Linked DNA regions of Homo sapiens: region 1 is linked to region 2. Evidence: promoter capture Hi-C in human tissues and cell types (Jung and others, 2019). All regions are on one chromosome and are shown on one strand. The core of a region is centred on a gene start or on the middle of the fragment in contact, and the rest is flanking DNA. Distances in the headings are between cores, read along the strand shown. Region 1 holds the start of SH3BP2 (SH3 domain binding protein 2). Region 2 has its middle 14 kb from the start of HTT.

The links. The method cuts DNA at HindIII sites, captures the fragments that hold promoters and counts their contacts. A contact is called where the count stands out against the background at its distance.
Region 1: the fragment with the promoter of SH3BP2 here is called in contact with a fragment that was not itself captured in region 2 in 1 of the 25 tissues and cell types used here (mesenchymal stem cells).

Annotation. Positions count from the first base shown.
Region 1 is chr4:2,791,755-2,794,484 of GRCh38, reverse strand. It overlaps SH3BP2 (SH3 domain binding protein 2), which reads right to left and starts at 1,400. Exons shown (of 13, transcript NM_001122681.2): 1 at 1,347-1,400. RefSeq lists a silencer at 1,333-1,682. The HindIII fragment of the contact is 44,064 bases long and covers 1-2,730 here.
Region 2 is chr4:3,059,264-3,061,963 of GRCh38, reverse strand. It overlaps HTT-AS. Among named protein-coding and RNA genes, the nearest start is that of HTT, 14 kb to the left of the region's middle. The HindIII fragment of the contact is 6,114 bases long and covers 1-2,700 here.

The DNA of each region.
Region 1 (2,730 bases), core at 151-2,650, 270 kb after region 2:
CTCGTCCCAGGCCTCCTGTCCTGCCAGGAGTGGAGTGCCTGGAGTGGGGCCCTGAGGTTGGGCTCCAAGAGGGCCCTTCGACGGTGTCTACGTAGAGGAGACAGTGGACAGAGTGGGAAGAACCAGGAGGGGGTGGAGCCCAGCCCCTCCTCTGGTCCCACAGGGCCTGAGCCAGTGAGGGCAGGAGCTTGTCCAGGCTCATGGAGTTGGTGCAGGGCTGACCTGAACCCAGAGGCTTGCTTCGGCAAGGAGGAGGCTGTGGGCCCTGCCTTCAGGCGGTTGTGGAAACAATTCTACACATTGCATCACCGGCCCATGTCACCTGCAAGGCCACACACATGTCATCCAGGCAGGCTGTCCACCCCAGCAGCCCACACGGAGTACCCGCCCCTGGCCACAGCCAATTCGAAGGACTTAAGTGTGGCCACTAGACCAGGAGGCACAGCTGTCCCCAGTGTCAACAGATGAGCAAACTGAGGCACAGAGAGGGGATAGGAGGTGCTCACGGAAAGGAGCACCAGCAGAAGGCTCCCCACAGCAGGGCTCAGGCCCTCAATACCCCCAGGGAGCCGAGGCCCAGAGCAGCGGGAAAGTGCTGGGCTGCAGGGAGGCCAGCGTACAGGTGGAAGGGGCTGTCCCCGCCCCCTAACTCCTCCAGTCCCTCTGCCACCCCTGAGATTCCCTGTTGCCCATGAGAGTCTCAGACGCCCGGCTATCAGTCACTCACACTTCAGTGTGAATCAGCGCCAGTGGGCGGCTTTTCTTGCCCTCCGTGAAGCGCGGCCGCTGCAGAGGGAAGTTTGGATTCCGGGAAGGGCGGAGAGCGAGTGCCCGCCGCAGCCTTTGAGTCTTGTGGGGAGGGTCGCGTAAAGGGGCCCCGCCGCGGGGCCAGAGGGGCGCGAGGGGTGCGAAACAGACGCGTCGCACCGCCTCCCACCCCTGAGCCCCCGGCAAGGGACACCCGGCCCCCGCCCCGAAGCCGCGCTCCCTCGGGCACTGCCCGCCGTGCCCAGGCCCCGTGCGTCCTTTGGCAAGGACACGGAGGCCCCGGGGCCCGGGGGAGGCTGCTGCGCACCCGAGACCCCCGACACCCGCCCATACCTGCCGGGACCCTGAGACTCCCCCGAGACCTGCCAAGACCTGCCGGGACCCCTGAGACTCCCCGGAGACTCCCCCGAGACCCCCGAGACCCGCCGAGACCTGTCGGGACCCCGAGACTCCCCCGAGACCCCCGAGACCCGCCGAGAGCCCCCAGACCGCCAAGGCCCGCCGAGCCCCTTCCAGACGCGGAGACCGCCCCCCCGCGAGACCCCCGAGACCCGCCGAGACCCGCCGCCGAGGCTTACCCGCCGAGCGCTCTCCTGGCCCGCGGGCCCTGGGTCGAGGCGGCGGCTTGACTCGGCCGCCAGGCGCTCCCGCCCGCGGGACCCGCCGCCGCCGCAGCTCCGTCCCGCCCGCGCCCGCCCAGTCCGCCCTCCTCCTGGCCCCGCCCCGGCCCCGCCCCTCCCCGGCGGGTCCCGCAATCCTGGAGGTCCGAGCTGGGCGTGGGGCGGGGCCGGTACCTCAGGGTGGGCGGGGAACTGCACGTGGCCTCCGCGGCCCCGGGACGAGGCCCCTGGGGGGCGAAGACTGGCGTTGTCGCGGGCCTAGACGCCGGGTCCACAGTAGGTGCTTAGTTCTCGCCCGTGAGTGAGGTAGCGTGTCTGTCCCTCCTGCGTGTCCCTCCCAGTGACACCCCAGTGCCCAGCGACCCAGGTGGAAAGGGCGCTGTCCACCCCCCCAGCCCCGTGGTCCTGATCCTGGGCGGCCCCACCCCTGCCCCGTGAGTGCGACTTAGGCCCTGGCCAAGACAGGAGCAGGGGAGGTGGGGGAGGGCTTGCTGGGCACCAGGAAACCTTGTCTTTGTTTCCAAATGTCCTCCAGGGTACTTTTCAGGCACTTCCCAGGGGGACCTCGCCTCTTGGACCAGGTCTGGACTCCGGTGGCCCAGAGGTCGTCTTGGGGCTGGGAGGCACAGGAGACCGGGTGCTTTACACTTGGCCTCCTCTGAGGCTCCCTTTCCTCCACCATCACCCTCTCCCTAAGAGTAGGCCCAGATGCCTTGGTGTAAGGGCAGGGGCGAGAAGAGGAGGGGCTTCCTGGGAGGAAATGGCTTCCCTGGGGAGCTCTCAGGGCCAGGTAGGTGGAGGGAGCCGTGGAGAAAGTGAAGAGGCTGGGGAGACCAAGCTGGGCCTGCAGAGCTTGAGGGCGAGCGGACCCCCCACCAGTGCGGGAGTCAACTGCTTGGGGCGTGGGGGGACTCCTCCCCATGAGGAGTGGGGACTGGACCCCAGGTCCCAGAGCCCAGGAAGCTGTGAGTAGAGGAAGGACAGGATCTTGCTGGGAACCCAAGGGAGCTGGGGGTGGGTGGTGGTGACCTGGCCCTGTCCAGGCAGGCGGCCAAGGTCTGACCCTCTGTACTGAGCACAAGAGGCCAGAGTCCAATGACAGGGGCTGAATTGGCTGCTCCAAATCAGGCAGGGGCAGGGGTGTCCAGGGCTGGCCCTGCAGCAGGTGAAGGACTGGGTTTGGGTCCTACAGGTTGAAATACCTGAGGGCCTCCAGGAGACACAGCCAAACCAAGCGGGTTCTCAGGGTTGCAGCTGGACCGAGTGTGGGCCAAGTCACCGTCCACCTGTCCCAGAGCTGCCCAATAATGGGTCCCAAGCCTCAGAAAGGGGATCCCTGGCT
Region 2 (2,700 bases), core at 50-2,549:
GTCGTCCGGGCTGGAGTGCAGTGGTGTGATCTCGGCTCACTGCAAGCTCCGCCTCCCCGGTTCACGCCATTCTCCTGCCTCAGCCTGCCGAGTAGCTGGGACTACAGGTGCTCGCCACCACACCCAGCTAGTTTTTTGTATTTTTTAGTAGAGATGGGGTTTCATCATGTTAGCCAGGATGGTCTCAATCTCCTGACTTTGTGACCTGCCCGCCTCGGCTTCCCAAAGTGCTGGGATTACAGGCGTGAGCCACTTTGCCCAGGCCTTTTTTTTTTTTTTCTGAGATGGAGTTTCACTCTTGTTGCCCAGGCTGGAGTGCAATGGCACCATCTCAGCTCACTGCAACCTCTTCCTTCTGGGTTCAAGCTATTCTCCTGCCTCAGCCTCCCGAGTAGCTGGGATTACAGGCGCCCGCCACCACGCCCAGCTAATTTTTTGTATTTTTAGTAGAGACAGGGTTTCACCATGTTGGCCGGGCTGCTCTCAAACTCCTGACCTCAGGTGATCCACCCACCTCCGCCTCCCAAAGTGCTGGCATTACAGGCATGAGCCACTGCGCCCAGTCAATAGACGCATATTCTGATTGCCTCCTTTGGAAAGGCTTATCGGAGATTCAAAAGAATGCAACCATTTGTCTACCTGTGACCTAGAAGCTCTCTCCCTGCCTCAAGTTGTCCCCGCCTTTCTGGACGGAACCAATGTACTTCTTACATATATGAATTGACGTCTCATGTCTCCCTAAAATGTATAAAACCAAGCTGTGCCCCGACCATCTTGGGAACATGTCATCAGGATTTCCTGAGGCTGTGTCACTGAAGTGGCATAATACCCAAGGTTCTGGGGTAATACCCAAGGTTCATTGCCTCATGCCAAGGAAATCAAGAACATAGATACACACGGAGTGGGGTTAAGAGTGGAGCTTTAATAGGTGAAAGAAAGAGAAAAATGAATAGCTGTCTCCTATAGAGAGAGAGGGGTGCCCCAGTGGGTCTTCCAGCCTGCGGCAGAATGGACAGGGTTTTATAGACAGGCTTGAGGAGGTGGTGTCTAATTTACACAGGGCCCAAAGATTGGTTGGACCAGGCATAATGTTTACATAGCATGCAAAGAAGCTGCCCACCCTACCCTCACCTTTTATTATGCAAATTGGTCTCTACTCGGGGGACACTATGTTGCCTGCTCCTTACTGTGCACATGGTTGACAAGGAAAGGGAAGATGGAGCCGCCATGTTGGATCTGCCTGGCCCCAGGTAGCCTTTTCTTATTGGCACAGCTGCCAGCATTCACCTGTGCAAGCTTCCAGCTTGCTTGTGTATGTCTGCAGCTCGATTTTACAGGCTGCTCTTTGTTAGAAAAGAAAATGCTTGGGGGCTGCTTTTCATTGAAAAGAAAACCTTACCGAGGACTTTCTTACCCTCAGTATCTGCCTAAATAATTTCTTTTTAACTCGTATATCATCACAGGTGTGCACCCTCAACCTTGGCAAAATAAACTTTCTAAATTAAATGAGACCTTTCTCAAATTTTGGGGTTTCAGAGGTGGAAGGATCACTTGAGCCCAGGAGTATGAGGAGCTATAATCATGCCACCAAACTCTAGCCTGGGCAACAAAATGAGATCCTGTTTCTAAAGATGCTTTAAAATGTGTAAATGTAGTAGACTCATGATTCAGGAAAAACCCAAGAAAAGTGTGAGGAAAGATTGAAGAGACACCAACCGAGATTAGTAAGGAAATGTAGAAATGAGGACTTCTTAAAATTGCTATGACCTCCTATCACTTTTCTGAAGAGTGACTTGGCAATGTCTTTCAAAAGATTTAACTGTGCCAACCATTTCATCACACTTAGCATGTACGCACAGGGCATTACTGTAGGGAAGTATTAAATAACCATCGAAAGACCCAGGAACACAGCTACTCAGGAGACCGACGCAGGAGAATCACTGGAACCCAGGAGACAGAGGTTGCAGTGAGCTGAGATCACGCCACTGAACTCCAGCCTGGGTGACAGAATGAATGAGACTCCGTCTCAAAAAAAAAAACAAAAAACACAGGGACAAAGATGTTAAAGCAACATTAATATCAAGAAGATGAGGCCAGGCGCAGTGGCTCAGGCCTGTAATCCCAGCATTTTGGGAGGCCAAGGCAGGTGGACCACCTGAGGTCAGGAGTTTGAGACCAGCCTGACCAACATGGTGAAACCCCATCTCTACTAAAAATACAAAAATTAGCTGGGTGTGGTGGTGCATGCACCTGTAATCCCAGCTACTCAGGAGGCTGAGGAGGGAGGTGGAGGTTGCAGTGGGCCGGGATCAGGCCACTGCACTCCAGCCTGGGTGACGGAGCGAGACTCTGTCTCAAAAAAAGAAAAAAAAAATGAAACAACCTCAATGTCCAAAAATAGAAAATTGGTAGAAACATTAATACTTCCAAATATTGGAATACTGAAAAGCCATTTAAAATGACTTATTTATGAGGAAGTGGAGAAATTGGAACCTTGGTGCACCATTGGTATGTTAAAAACTTCCAACAAATTGAATTGAACAGAGTTTAGCTGATCAAGGAAAAAAAAAACAATTCACAAATGGTGCAGGTCCCAGAATCACAGCAGATTCAGGGAGACTCTAGGGATGCTGTGTGGTCAAAGCAAATTTATGGACAGAAAAGGGAAAGTGGCCACAGAAAGCAGAAGTGAGGCACGTT